Linked DNA regions of Homo sapiens: region 1 is linked to region 2. The links are contacts of gene promoters, found by promoter capture Hi-C in human tissues and cell types (Jung and others, 2019). All regions are on one chromosome and are shown on one strand. Each heading gives the region's core, a stretch centred on a gene start or on the middle of the fragment in contact. The rest is flanking DNA. Distances are from core to core; before and after follow the strand shown. Region 1 holds the start of SPTBN2 (spectrin beta, non-erythrocytic 2). Region 2 holds the start of RBM4B (RNA binding motif protein 4B).

Region 1 (6,988 bases), core at 2,640-5,139, 51 kb before region 2:
GCATGATCTAGCCCTTGCCTATCTCCCCAGTCGCAATTCTCTACACATTCCCTCTTCCCCTCTGTTTTCCCTGCACCCTGGTCTTTTCTCCATTTCTTTTGTATTGTTTTTTTTTTTTTTTTTGGTTGGTTGGTTTTTTGAAAAAGAGTCTCACTCTGTCCCCCAGGCTGGAGTGCAGTGGCACAATCTCAGCTCACTGTAGCCTCCGTCTCCTGGGCTCAAGAGATTGTCCTGCCTCAGCCTCCCGAGTAGCTGGGATTACAGGCACTTGCCACCACGCCCGGCTAATTCTTGTATTTTTAGTAGAGATGAGGTTTCACCATGTTGGCCAGGCTAGTCTCGAACTCCTGACCTCAGGTGATCCACCTGCCTCAGCCTCCCAAAGTGCTGGGATTACAGGCGTGAGCCACCGCGCGCAGCCTCTTTTCTCCATTTTTTTTTTTTTTTTTTTTTGAGAGACAGAGTCTTGCTCTGTTGCCCAGGCTGGAGTGTAGTGGAATGATCTCAGCTCACTGCAACCTCTGCCTCCCGGGTTCAAGCAATTCTCCTGCCTCAGCCTCCCGAGTAGCTGGGATTACAGGCGCATGCCACCACGCCCAGCTAATTTTTTTGTATTTTTAGTAGAAAAGGGGTTTCACTGTGTTAGCCAGGATGGTCTCAATCTCCTGACCTTGTGATCCGCTTACTTTGGCCTCCCAAAGTGCTGGGATTACAAAGTCGTGAGCCACTGCACCCGGCCTCTTTTCTCCATTTCCTATGTACACCATGTGTCCTGCAACATCAGGCCTGTTAGCCATATGCTCTGTGGCTAAGAACATGGGTTCAAGGGTCAGATTGGGTTAAAATCCCAGCTCTACCCTTGCCTGGTTTGATGACCCTGAGTAAGGTACTTAATCTCTCAATGTCTCCATTTCCTCATCTGTGAAATGGGGTTAATACTTACCTCTTGGAGTTGTTATAAAGGATTAAATGAAATGTTATGTGTAAAGTATTAGAAATACAGTTCCACGTTAATGTTAGTAACAGCTATTATTATTCCCCACTCTGTCTGGTTAATGCTTCTCATATTTCAGATCTCAGCTCAGGTGATCTGAGGTTATGACTCTGTTCAGTTCTCTCTTAACATCCTGAACTTTTCATTCATAACACTCATTATACTTTGTGGTTATATATCTGATGGGTTATTTTATTAATGTCTGTCAATCCCACCACAGGCTCTTCCAAGAGAAAACAGACAGTATCCATTTTACTCATCATTATATCCCCAGATCCCAGCACAGTGCCTGGTATATAATTAGCCATATAGTTTTTGCATAAATATTTGATTGAGCAGGGGCGAGGAAGTGAAGCCAATGAGTGCAAATGACTCAGGAAGACTGTGAACATAAAGAGCAAGGGGAATGCATGGAGGGAAGTCGGGGCTTCTTGATTATTTTTTAAGCTGGCAAATGCTTGAGCATGTTTAAATGCTGATGGGAAGGAACCAGCTGAGAGACAGCAGTGAGGGCCGTGAGGCTGCAGAAGGGGATGAGACTTAGCATAGGAGCCAGAAGAATCCATCTTAGGTGAAAAGAGGGACACCTCTTCCCTGGTATTGAAACAAGAACTGAGAATTCGGCTATGTATGTATGTTTGGTGGGCAGAGCCAAAACCTTTCCATGAATCTTGGTAATGTAAGCAGCAAATGTGGATTCACTGAGAAGCTCAACAAACTTGGTGGATATCATTCCATTCGCTTTTGCAACTCAAATAAGAAGGAACCAGATATTTTCTTCATCATTGACTGTACTGGTTCACTACAGAGCAAAATAACAAGTTTCCAAAGCAACCCAGTCACAGAGCTGAGATAGGTGATCTCAGTGTTCTCTTTATTCAATGTGCTTCCTCTCCAAATCGGGAAACAGTATGGGAAATAATACGGTAAAATCATAACGGCTGATACTGATTAAGTGCTTACTATGTGCTGCATATAATTCATTTACCTGCAATAATTCATTTGATGTTCCCCACATTATGGTGCCATTTTACATGTAAGGAAACTGAATCCTAGGGAGGTAACTTGCCCAAGGTCACATAGTCAGTGGGTGGCAGAACTATGTTTTAAACCCAAGGAGTCTGACTCCAAAATCAATGCTTTTAACCATTCTGCTATACTCCCTGTCTAGCAGAGAGGAAAGAACATATTAGGATTCAGAAGACCTGGAGTTTCTACCATGAACTAATTCTGTGAACTTGTACATTCACTTAGGTGTCTGAACATCAGTCTGTTCATCAATAGAATAAGAATGAGAATGTTTATCTTACAAGGCTTCTTGAAGGATTATGAAATGCTGAAAATAGGAAATTATAAAAGATATTATTTTGCTAATCATAAGACTTAATACCCTTGACTTCTAATTGGGTCACGATATTATAGGCTGTCATTGAGACCCTTAGTTCCCGTAACCAGTACAGCAGCAGCAGCTTGGTGGTTCCAGTTCCTTTGGCAGGGCAGCTGATTCTCTAATTTTTTTTTTTTTTTTTGGAGATGGAGTCTCGTTCTTGTTGCCCAGGCTGAAGTGCAGTGGCACAATCTCAGCTCACTGCAACCTCTGCCTCCCGGGTTCAAGCGATTCTCCTGCCTCAGCCTCCTGAGTAGCTGGGATTTCATGCCCACCACCACGCCTGGCTAATTTGTGTATTTTTAGTAGAGAAGGGGTTTCACCATGTTGGCCAGGCTGGTCTTGAACTCCTGACCTCGCGATCCACCTGCCTCGGCCTCCCAAAGTGCTGGGATTACAAGGGTGAGCCACTGCGCCTGGCCATGGGCAGCTGATTCTCATCCCATCAGCTTTAATGTCCCTGACCAAGTGTCCCTGATGACCGTCATGCACAGGTTGGTGCCTCCTTCCCCCGAACCAACCAACACATAATCCTACCTCTGGGAAGAGTTGCAGTTTATGCCCTTGTTTCTTTAATGCCATTGCCTGAAAGAGTGGCTATTAAAAATAATAAATAGCCTCAGGCCTGGCACGGCAGCTCACGTCTGTAATCCCAGCACTTTGGGAGGCTGAGGCAGGCAGATCACCTGAGGTCAGGAGTTCAAGAACAGCCTGGCCAACATGGCAAAACTCTGACTCTACTAAAGATACAAAAATTAGTCGGGCATGGTGGCATGCACCTGTAATCCCAGCTACTCGGGAGGCTGAGGCAGGAAAATTGCTTGAACCCGGGAAGAGGAGGTTGCAGTGAGCCGAGATCAAGCCACTGTACTCCAGCCTGGGTGACAGAGCACGACTCCGTCTCAAAATAATAATAATAATAAATAGCCTCAAATGCAGCTAACTGTGAGGTACACACCAGAGAGCCAGTTCCAGTTTCGTGGTAGAAGCACAGATATCAGAGCTAGGAGAGAACTTCAAAGTAATCTTTCAATGGAACTCCCCAACCCTCCTCCCAACCCATTTTATAGACTAGGAAAACCAAGGCGAGGTAGATGACACCACTAGTTAGGGTTGTCAAAACCATATCTGGAAAGTACTTCAATTGCACATATTTGTTTCAGTATGCATACCTTTTCAGAAAGGAGCAAAATCCTAAATTACCCATAAATCTATTATAAAACCTTAAATCCAATAATTCACTCAAAGCCCATTCTTTGAGTGCCCTTACTTGACCATTTCAGGCATTCCCTGGATAGAAACGGGCCCTCATCTTCAGGGGCAGTACATAACCTAACGGCTCTGTACAAAGCTCACCCTGTTACCACTGGCTCATCTCTGAGCTGAGTTCTCTAATCTGGAAGAACAGCACCTACTTCTCAGAGCTGGAGTGGGGGTGGGAGTGTCACATGAGATGATGCGCTTTTAGCACCCACCTGGCACTCTGTGAGTTTGTCATGATTTGGGCATAATTCCTTCCTCTCCTAAGCAGGCAGCAGTTCACCTTGGTTAAGGACCTTGGACCTTAGACCACTCAGACGCTAACAAACCAAGGAGAAACCCAGCCGTGTCAGGCCTAGAAATGTCTGCCCCCACCCCCACCCCCCTCAAGACGGTGACTAGGCCGGAATTCTCCTGGTTGATAAATGAGAGGAGCTGAGAAGCGCTGAGATGCCTGTTTGGAGCATCTGATCTGTAGAAGACGAATCTTCACTGTGCCATGGAGATGTTCTGGGAGGGAGAGCCGGCCCAGCTGCCTGAAGGAGGACGCGAGAGCGAGGGGACGGGTGAGAGGAATGCTTAGCGGAGACGGACTGGAGGTGCCCGGAGAGGAAAGGGGAACGGAGGCTGGATCTCGGGAAACCTCGTCGGCAGTGTCATTAGAGGAAGGATCGCGTGTCTCGGGGATACGGATTTTGGAGGAAAAGCAGAATAGGGACAAAGGTGAGGTGTCCGAACCGGGGAGATCAAGACCTGTAAGCTGTGGTGGGGGACCCAGGGACCAGCGAGGACGGGAAGGCGGGGTTTTGGGGGGACCCCGCACGGAAGGTGGCTGGGGGTCGGCAGCCGGCCTCGGAGCTGCTGCCGCGTTCGCCCCGAGGCAGGTCAACTACCCCGGGCGGGGAGCGGCGGGGAGCACCGAGAGGGGCCTCGGTTGCCATGGCGCTGGGCGGGGAAGGGGCGACTCGGGCCCCGCCCAGAGCCCCGCGGGGCCGCCGGCTCCAGATGGTCCCGGGCCTCCCGCGGGAGCCGGCGGCCTGCGGCAGGGGGAGGCTATTGTCCTCCTTCCGCGGCGCCGCAGTCCCGCCGCTCGCGCCCGCGCGCCGCCGCCACGCGCCCCGCCGCCGCCCGCCCCGCGCGCCCCCCGCGCCGCCTGCGCCCCGTGACAGCGCCCGCCCGCCGCCCGCCGTGCGCCCGGCCGCTGCCTGCAACCGCCCGTCGCGGCCGGGCTGCAGGCGCGGCAACTACCGGTGCGCCCCCGCCCGCCGCGCCCCCGCCCGCCCGGCCGCGGCTCCGCGCCGAGGTAGGTGCCGGCGCCCCGCCCGCTTTGTCCCGGCCCGCGGGGCGGCGCGCTTTGTCCGGCCGCGTGCGGTCGGCGGGGTCGGGGTCGGGGTCGGGGTCGGGTCCCGGCGGCCGGGGTGAGCCGGGGCGGGAGCAGGCGGGGACGGGACGGAGAGGGTCCCGTGCCAGCCACACAGGTACCGGGATGAGGGCGGTGGGGGCCAAGGCCGAGGGGGGGGGACTCGGGCCTCTCTGGAGCCGGGAGAAGAGTCTGGAACAGTTAGGGCTGACGGACACGTTCGCGGCGAGGCTGGGAGCGGGTCTGACAGCGCCGGCCCCTCGCGTCGCCGGGGCTGCGGGGCGGACGGGCCGGCGCCGGGCCAGGTGCTGGGGGCGCGCTCGGCCGCCTCTGCCCGGCGGACTGCGGGAGCCGGGCTCCCTCCTCCCCGGAGCCGCGTGGGCTCCTCCTCGCCTCTTTGGCAGCTGGCTCCACGCGCTCCCTTCTGTTCCCCCACAGTGTGTGGGAGAGGGGCACGCGGTTGGCTGTGGTGGCCGGAACTGGCCCGGGGAGAAAGCAGACGCTTCGGGCGGCGGGGAAGCGGCCGCGTGCGGCGTTTCTGTGGCCAGGAAGCTGATAGGGCTGTGCGGTCCGCCCCGCACGGAACTACCCAGCAAGGCCTGCTCGCGGGGGTGTTCCGGCTCCGGTGCCACAGTCGTGATTTACCTTCCACTCGCTTGGAACTTTACCCCATTGACCCCAGGACATTGCATGCTTGTGTGAGGTGCAGGTTTGCCCCGGTCTTAACCTGCTACATGTCGTCTGCCCTCCCCCTCTCGGAGCAGCCACAGTTCCAACGCTGGAGAGCCCGGGGGTTTCAGGTATGGGCAGAGGTAGCAACAAACCAGTTTTCCTTGAAGGTGAAGAGGGGCAGAGTGAGTTCCAAATATGTGTCTTAGCTTGAGGTGTGGGGCAACCTCTTGGCTTATTCAGAAAGGCAAAGGATTGGCCGAGGAGAAGATAGGATGGAGTTTACATTCTTCCCTTAGAGAAATTGATGTGACCCCGGGTTGGGGAAGGGAGATAGCAAGGGAGTGAAGAATCTGAATATTTGAATAAATCTGCCATAACTGGAGGATTCTAGAAGAGAAAATAAAATTTCAGTCCCCCTCTTCAGCCCAGTTCCTAACTTCCTCCGAGGGAATTGATCAGGAACACAGTCTGAGAGGTGGGTCGGGGTTTTGCTGTTCCTTCCTTCTGCCCTGGGCCCATCTTTCTCTTGCCTTCCTGGAGGCCCTGAGCTGATTTGTGACTTCTTTTTCGTTTTATCTCTCTGCCAGTCCACCCATTTATACTTAGAAGCAAATAAGATTTGAACTTTGCCAAAGTCCCCATTTCTTCTAATCTATTATTCATCTCACTGTCATTTGTTCAACTCTGCCTTCCCGTGACTTCTCTAGCTCTGCCGTTCTCCTCCCGCATATCTGCGGTTCGCTGTGCTGTTTCTTTCATTACCTGTGGTACCTACTCCATCTTCATCTTCCTCTCCCATCGCCTGAGCTCCTGAGGGGAAGTGATATTTGAGTTTAGTGTGGGGTAGGGCCTGAGCAGACCTAGAAGCTAACCCTGGGTCACACTCACCCCTGAAACTTTGTGTCTTCTCAACACTCATGGCTCCTCTAACCAATTCCAGCTGCTTCTCATCTTTGGACAAGGGTGGCCCTCAAAGTGTGGTCCCCAGACCATTAGCTTCAGTGTCACCCGGGAACAGGTTAGAAATGCACATTCCCAGGTACCACCCCAGAAGTACTGAATCGTAAACTGGGGGATGGGGGGGTGACCTGTGATTTAACAGTCCTCCAGGTTGTTGTGATTCATGGAAGTTTGAGAATCCCCAGACCTGAGCTGTTGAGCTCAACCCTGAAAGTATTCCAGCCCAGGAGCAGGTCTTCTCCAATCCCGTGTTCATTCTTTCCTTGAGCTTCTCTCTAGTCCTAAGAAAGACATTAATTCCATGGCCAAAAAAAATGAATTATAGTCAAGTCATTCAATATCTCTTTATTGAATA
Region 2 (7,321 bases), core at 2,108-4,607:
AAGCAGGAGGATTATTTGAGCCCAGGAGCTAGAGGCTACAGCAAGCTATGATCGTGCCACTGCACTCCAGCCTGCATGACAAAGCAAGACCCTTTCTCAAAAAACAAGTCTGGGCACAGTGGCTCACGCCTTTAACCCCAGCAATTTGGGAGGCTAAGGTGGGTGGATCACCTAAGGTCAGGAGTTCGAGACCAGCCTGACCAATGTGAAACCCCGTCTCTACTAAAAATACAAAAATCAGCCAAGTGTGGTGACACGTGCCTGTAGTCCCAGCTACTCAGGAGGCTGAGACAGGAGAATTGCTTGAACCTGGGAGGCGGAGGTTGCAGTGAGCTGAGATCGCACCACTGCACTCCAGCTTGGGCGACAGAGCAAGACTCCGTCTAATAAAAAAAAAAAAAGGTTGTGCGTGGTGGCTTACACCTGTAATCCCAGCACTTTGGGAGGCCGAGGTGGGCGAATCACAAGGTCAGGAATTCAAGACCAGCCTGACCAATATGGTGAAACCTCGTCTCTACTAAAAATACAAAAATTAGCCGGGCGTGGTGGTGGCACACGCCTGTAATCCCAGCTACTCAGGAGGCTGAGGCAGAAGAATCGCTTGAACCCAGGAGGCAGAGGCTGCAGTGAGCCGAGATAGTACCACTGCACTCCAGCTTGAGCGACAGAGTGAGACTCCATCACACACAAAAAAAAGACAACAAGAAGGGATGCTTAAAATCATTAGTAACCAGAGAAATACAAATTAAAGCAACAATGAAATATCACTTTATATCTATTAGACTGACAAAAATTAGAAAAGCGGATAATGTCTATCACTGGCAGGGATGTAGAGATACAAGGCCCCTCATATGCTACAGGTGGAAGAGTATGCTGGTGCAGCTTTTCCAGAGAATTCAGTGCTACTTAGACAGGTGAGTTCTACGTATACTCTATGACCCAGCAATTCCACCTCTGGTTTTATATCCCCCCAAATTCTCACACAGAATTAGGGCACATACTTAAGCATGTTCACTGCAGCCTTGTTTATAATGACAGAGAGCTGGAAGCTGAGTGCCCTATGCCCAGAGATGAACAGGTACAATATGTGACTGTACACCACAGAGGACTGCGTTACTCGCTAGTTAGACATCATGCGGCGACATAGCCCTTAGTGGAAAAATAGTAAGACACAGCTATACAACTCAAAACACACCATTTACATAATGCATACAAATGTACAATGTTTAAGTCCAGATTAGAAGAAATCAACTGTAAAAAGACATTTGTAACAATCCAGGAGAAATTTGGGCATAAACATTAGATAATATTAACATAGGATAGTGCTATTTTAAATTAGCAGCACATATAAGCCGGGTGCAGTGGCTCACACCTGAATCCCAGCATTTTGTGAGACTGTGGTGGAAACATCTTGAGCCCAGAAGTTTGAGACCAGCCTGGGCAACACAGTGAGACCCCCATCTCTACAAAAAAAAAAAATTTAAATTAGCTGGATGGGGTGGCCCACACCTGTGGTCCCAGCTGCTCCAGAGGCTAAGATAGGAAGATCACTTGCGCCTGCGAGGTCGAGGCTACAGTGAGCCATAATGGTGCCACTGCACTCTAGCCTGGACAACAAAGTGACACCCTGACTCAAAAATAATAGTAATAATAGTTAAGGGCCGGGCGAGGTGGCTCACGCCTGTAATCCCAACACTTTGGGATGCCAAGGCCAGCGGATCGCTTGAGGTCGGGAGTTCGACACCAGCCTGGCCAACACGGTGAAACCCTGTCTCTACTAAAAATACAAAAATTAGCTGGGGGGTAGCGCACGCCTGTAGTCCCAGCTACTCGGGAGGCTGAGGCAGGAAAATGGCTTGAACGCAGGAGGTGGAGGTTGCAGTAAGCCGAGATCGCACCACTGCCCTCCAGCCTGGGCGACACAGTGAGACTCTGTCTTTAAAAAATTAAACAAAAAATAAAAATAAAATAAAATTGGAAGGACAGTGCCTCTTCTGAAATGGCTGAGAAACAAAAAGAACTCAGGTAAAGAACATATCCAAGTAGCTGGGGTGGAAGAGGGCAGCCTGGGGAATGTGTCCCAGATGGTATCAGAGAAGCCATTATGGAGCCACTAAAATGAGGAATGGTGGCTGACAACCTCCCTGGCGGGCTCTACTAGGAGATAAACCCAATCCATCAATCTCCATAAAAGGCTACTCTTTGCTGGAAGGTGACAGTGGGGAATCAGCCTAAACTTCTTTTTTTTTTTTTTTTGAGACCGAGTCTTGCTCTGTCACCCAGGCTGGAGTGCAGTGACGCCATCTCGGCTCACTGCAACCTCCGCCTCCCGGGTTCCAACGATTCTCCTGCCTCAGCCTCCCGAGTAGTTGGGATTACAGGCGCCCGCCACCACGCCGGGCTATTTTTTGTATTTTTAGTAGACACGGGGTTTCACCATGTTGGCCAAGCTGGTGTCGAACTCCTGAACTCGTGATCCGCCCGCCTTGGCCTCCCAAAGTGCTGGGATTATAGGCGTGAGCCGCCGCACCTGGCACGCCTAAGCTTGTTTTTACCGCCAGGAGGTGCCCTTGGACCACAGCTGAATTTTGAATGCTAGACAGTCGGGAAACTCAGTTGCCTAGACTTCCAGCTTGGTGTGTACGAGGAGACCCTGTCCCACCCAGAACTAGGGACCTCGCTGGGCCTCTCCACCAAGTATTCCTCTGGCGTGCTCACCACAGACCAGGACTGTGATGGACACACAATGAGTGAGAGAGAATCAGACCACGGATACTCACGAGCAAACAAAACATGACTAAGCGTAGCCTGGGTAGCAATGCCTCTTAGGCCTGTCCCAGTTCTGCCAGGTTATCTTTCTGCCCCTTGGTTCTCAGTTTCCGTAGCAATAAATAACACCTCTGCAATGACAAACTTTAAAATAATGTTTAAAGCGCTACAAAACAATGACTAGTTTTGCTTAAAATGTGGCGCACCTGTATTTTTGAAATGTTGCCCCAAGCTGCCACAGAAGCCGGCCAGCCCGCTACAAAAGCCCCTTTTTAGGGCCCTCGGGGAGATTCCTCTGTCATTAGCTCCCCGCCCCCCTCAAAGGGCCCAAGAGCAGGACCCATTGTGGTGAGCGACTCCCCAAGGCCTCCGCTTTTCTAGGCAGTGGTTGCGTTCAGAGCCCCTCTGACGCAGCAGTGGCGACCCTTTCCAGGGTGGTGACTGGCTGGCTGGGGCTGGGGGTGGGCTGACCTCCGCGGCGCCGCGCCACCACCAACAGGCCCCGCCCCCGTGCTGCGTGGTCATTTGTATGCAGCCTCGGGATTGGTCACTCGGCTCCCGCGAGGGGAAGGGGAGGGAAGCAGCGCGCACTCGCGCGTGCGTGAGCTGGCGCGCGAGAAAGGGCCCGGTCGCGTCCAGGCTCGAGCGGCCGTCGCCATTTTGTAAGGTTCTCTCTGACGTGGGAGCCGCCGTCGCTGCCGCCACCCGGAGGTGCGAGGGGGTCGTGTGTGTGTGATGTGGGGAGCTCGGGGGCGGGTCGGGCCGGGCCTCCGGCAGACTGCACGGCCCGGATTTGGGTTTCTCATTTTGCAGCGGGAGGTCTGGGAAGACAACGGGAGGAGGCGGGGCCGGGTCTCCGGAAGGAGGCGGGGCAGGGGTCGGGTCGAGTCTTTGTTGGGGCGAAGAAGCTGGAGGGTGGGCCGCTGGGGGCGAGGTGGTTGGTCCCCGGTTTGGGGGAAAGGGGACTTTTTTCTTTTTAGAGTATCTTGAAAGGCGCTAGTGCGCGCAGGAGAGGTACACAGATTTCCCTCCAAAACCTTGTTACCAGGCGCACTGCGATTGATGCCCCTTGCCTTTGCTTGGGCTTTTCTCTTCCCTCATTTTAAGACATGAAGCAGCTAATTCTGGTATTTCATTGCGCTCCACTTCACGGAGATGATAGACTGGGCTATGCATGCTGACCCTCGACCTCCTGTTTGCATGTCACGCATAGCTCGCACTTCTCGAGAACAAACCGCCCTTCTTCTATTGAGGAAGAATAATGAATGTCTGTACGAGGGTCTTGAAGGTGCAAGAACTTTGGAGGATTAGACGAAAATGCTGCAGTGCACCGAAATTTCCCACCACACCCCTGACTTTTGAAGTCTTGTGTTTCTCTCCCAGGCTCTTGTCAGGATGGTGAAGCTGTTCATCGGAAACCTTCCCCGGGAGGCTACAGAGCAGGAGATTCGCTCACTCTTCGAGCAGTATGGGAAGGTGCTGGAATGTGACATCATTAAGAATTACGGCTTTGTGCACATAGAAGACAAGACGGCAGCTGAGGATGCCATACGCAACCTGCACCATTACAAGCTTCATGGGGTGAACATCAACGTGGAAGCCAGCAAGAATAAGAGCAAAGCTTCAACCAAGTTACACGTGGGTAACATCAGCCCCACTTGTACCAACCAAGAGCTTCGAGCCAAGTTTGAGGAGTATGGTCCGGTCATCGAATGTGACATCGTGAAAGATTATGCCTTCGTACACATGGAGCGGGCAGAGGATGCAGTGGAGGCCATCAGGGGCCTTGACAACACAGAGTTTCAAGGTGAACTGCTCTGGGCCTGGGTAGTAGCGCCGAGTGGGGTCTAGCTCAAAACAGGCAAGAACACAAGACTATAGAACTTGCTGGGTGGTCTCTTCCATTCTGTTTTAGCTGGAAATAATAGATTATGTTTACCGCTCTTAAGCATAATTTACCCCTGGGGAAGCAAACACTTCCCCTTTTCAGGTTTGCTAAGATGTTGCTCACCGACTGCATAGAATCACAAACTGTGGGTTACTTTACCCTGCGGGATTCTTGCATTGATTCGAGTGCTGTTGGAAGTGTAATCTGCTTGGGGAAACGAGTACCTCATGAGAGAAGGGAGGATAAAGGTCCGTGGCTTACCTGCTTCTTTGGTGATGATCAGGAAGCCTTATATTTGAGGGTTTAAGTGCTTAAGATTTATATTCTTTACTGCTTTGGGTGGATACTGGTGGGAAAGAAGAAAAAAGACATCTAGAGGAAGCCCTATATTATAAATCTGGGTGGCAAGTCTGGATCTGCGGGAGTATCTTTTTGTTGATCAAAGTTGTGCAGTCTCTTCAAGCAGAGTCAAAAAAACATGCCATGGAGTGTTCTGCTCCACCTGTTCATTTCACCCTCAGAAAAGGAAATTTCTAAATATATCAGACTCAATGGGAATGATGGTCCCGCTTCTGAAGAAATTTCAGTACAAGCATCGTAGAGCATATCATACTATTTATACCGATAATAAAGGTACATATGTTGTCATTAATACCACAAGAGGTTGTCAGAAGACTCTAGAACTGTGCTAATATGGTAACCACATGCGGCTTAGTAAATTGAAATTAACAGATTAGATAAAATTTAAAATTCAGTTTTTCAAGTGTATACCAGACACGTTTCAAGCACTCAGTAGTCATGAGGCCTGTGGCTACCGTATTAATAGAGACACAGAACATTTCCATCATCATAGAACATTCTTTTGGATAGCACTGTTCTACAAGTGTTTTGTTAACAGTATCGTCTTGGACCTCATGTTCATAGCCACTTTTGTGGTTCCTAAGTCAACACCTTTTTTGCCCTGAGTGTCATTAAAGGGGTTGTTAAGAAGTACTTTTGGGTCTTCTATTAAAACTAAAAAACAAAATGAGAAAAATAATGGGAGAAGAGGAAAAGTTGACCAGAGAAGGGTAAGAAAGTTTGCATAGTGGAGATGGGTAGAGGAGCACCATCAAGTATCTCCAGCTTCAGCCAGTGATGCCTTGGCCTTTAGCTGCTCTTTAAAGCATAGGGCAAAGGTTGCAGATACTTCCTACCATTAACTAGTGTGTGACCTTGGACAAGTGTTTTAACATTTCTCTGCTTCATTTTCCTCACTAAGATTGTCCCCACTTATGGAGTTAATGATCCCTACTGTACCTCCCTCACAGGATTGTAGTGGGGCTAGAATGAAGAAATCGATGTGAAAGTGTTTTGATAGTAAAAGCTCTTTATGATGACAGGTGATTGCTCTTTGCAACCATGAGTGTTTCTATTCTGGTTAGAAAATTATTGAAAGTGTGATAGCGAAGCTTTCCTTATTGGTTTGCTTTTCTTACATTTGTTTTTCTTTTTCTTATTTTGGAATGTTGTTGCATTTTCAGCTTTTAAAAGTATCTTAATTATTTTCATTTGATGGGGGAAATCATCATGATGGACAGTGGAGACTGGGGAAGGAGGGTTTTCTCCTGACAGGTAATGAGCAAAATGTAAAAGAATGTAAAGTTGGGTACAAACTGCAGAGGTATTCTAGTAATGTCATACAGAATGCCCTTACCTTTTAAATATATTTAATACAGGCAGGGTGCGGTGCCTCACACCTGTAATCCCACCACTTTGGGAGGCCAAGGCGGGTGGATCACCTGAGGTCAGGAGTTCGAGACCAGCCTGGCCAACATGGTGAAATCCCATCTCTACTAAAAATACAAGAAAACTAGCAAGGCGTGGTAGTGTGTGCCTGTAATCCCAGCTACTCGGGAGGCTGAGACAGGAGAATCGCTTGAACCTGGGAGGTAGAGGTTGCAGTAAACCGAGATTGTGCCACTGTATTCCAGTCTGGGCAACAGCGAGACTCCTTCTCAAAAAAGAAAAAAAAAAAACCATATATATATTTAATACAACTGAATAAAAGGAAAAGGACAGGCCGGGTGCTGTGGCTCACGCCTGTAATCCCAGCACTTTGGGAGGCCAAGGCGGGGGGATCACGAGGTCAGAGATTGAGTCCATCCTGCTCAACATGGTGAAACCCCGTCTCTACTAAAAATACAAAAAAAAAATTAGCCGGCCATGGTGGCAGGCGCCTTGTAGTCCCCACTACTCGGGAAGCTGAGGCAGGAGAATAGCGTGAACCCAGGAGGCAGAGCTTGCAGTGAGCCGAGATCATGCCACTGTACTCCAGCCTGGGGGACAGAGCAAGACTCCATCTCAAAAAAAAAAAAGAAAGAAAAGAAAAAGAAAAGCTACCTGAAGTTAATAAAAAAAAAAAAAAAAGAAAAAAAAATCAGTTAATTGGGGGGAGTTGGCTTAGGATGAATATGTGTTTTAATAAGGCAGGTATAATTACTTTAGGATGTATCTGAATAATGCAGTGGATCCATAAGATTTTTAAAAACATCACTTCCTTAGAAAGTGCAAACACTAAAATGAATTGGAAAAGAAAAATCCTGTATTTGGTTTTCATGTTCTTAACTTGGCTCCTCTGGAGATAGCACTCTCCTCCTAGTTATAGAGACGTTTTTATAACTA

Evidence for each region. Contacts are between HindIII fragments. The study calls those that stand out against the background at their distance.
Region 1: the fragment with the promoter of SPTBN2 here is called in contact with the fragment with the promoter of RBM4B in region 2 in 5 of the 25 tissues and cell types used here (IMR-90 fibroblasts, aorta, mesenchymal stem cells and 2 more).

The regions. Positions count from the first base shown.
Region 1 is chr11:66,726,117-66,733,104 of GRCh38, reverse strand. It overlaps SPTBN2 (spectrin beta, non-erythrocytic 2), which reads left to right and starts at 3,889. Exons shown (of 38, transcript NM_006946.4): 1 at 3,889-4,364. The HindIII fragment of the contact is 42,487 bases long and covers 1-6,988 here.
Region 2 is chr11:66,673,923-66,681,243 of GRCh38, reverse strand. It overlaps RBM4B (RNA binding motif protein 4B), which reads left to right and starts at 3,357. Exons shown (of 4, transcript NM_031492.4): 1 at 3,357-3,480; 2 at 4,153-4,576. The coding sequence starts at 4,165. RefSeq lists silencers at 3,155-3,434, 3,635-3,744. The HindIII fragment of the contact is 6,531 bases long and covers 1-5,249 here.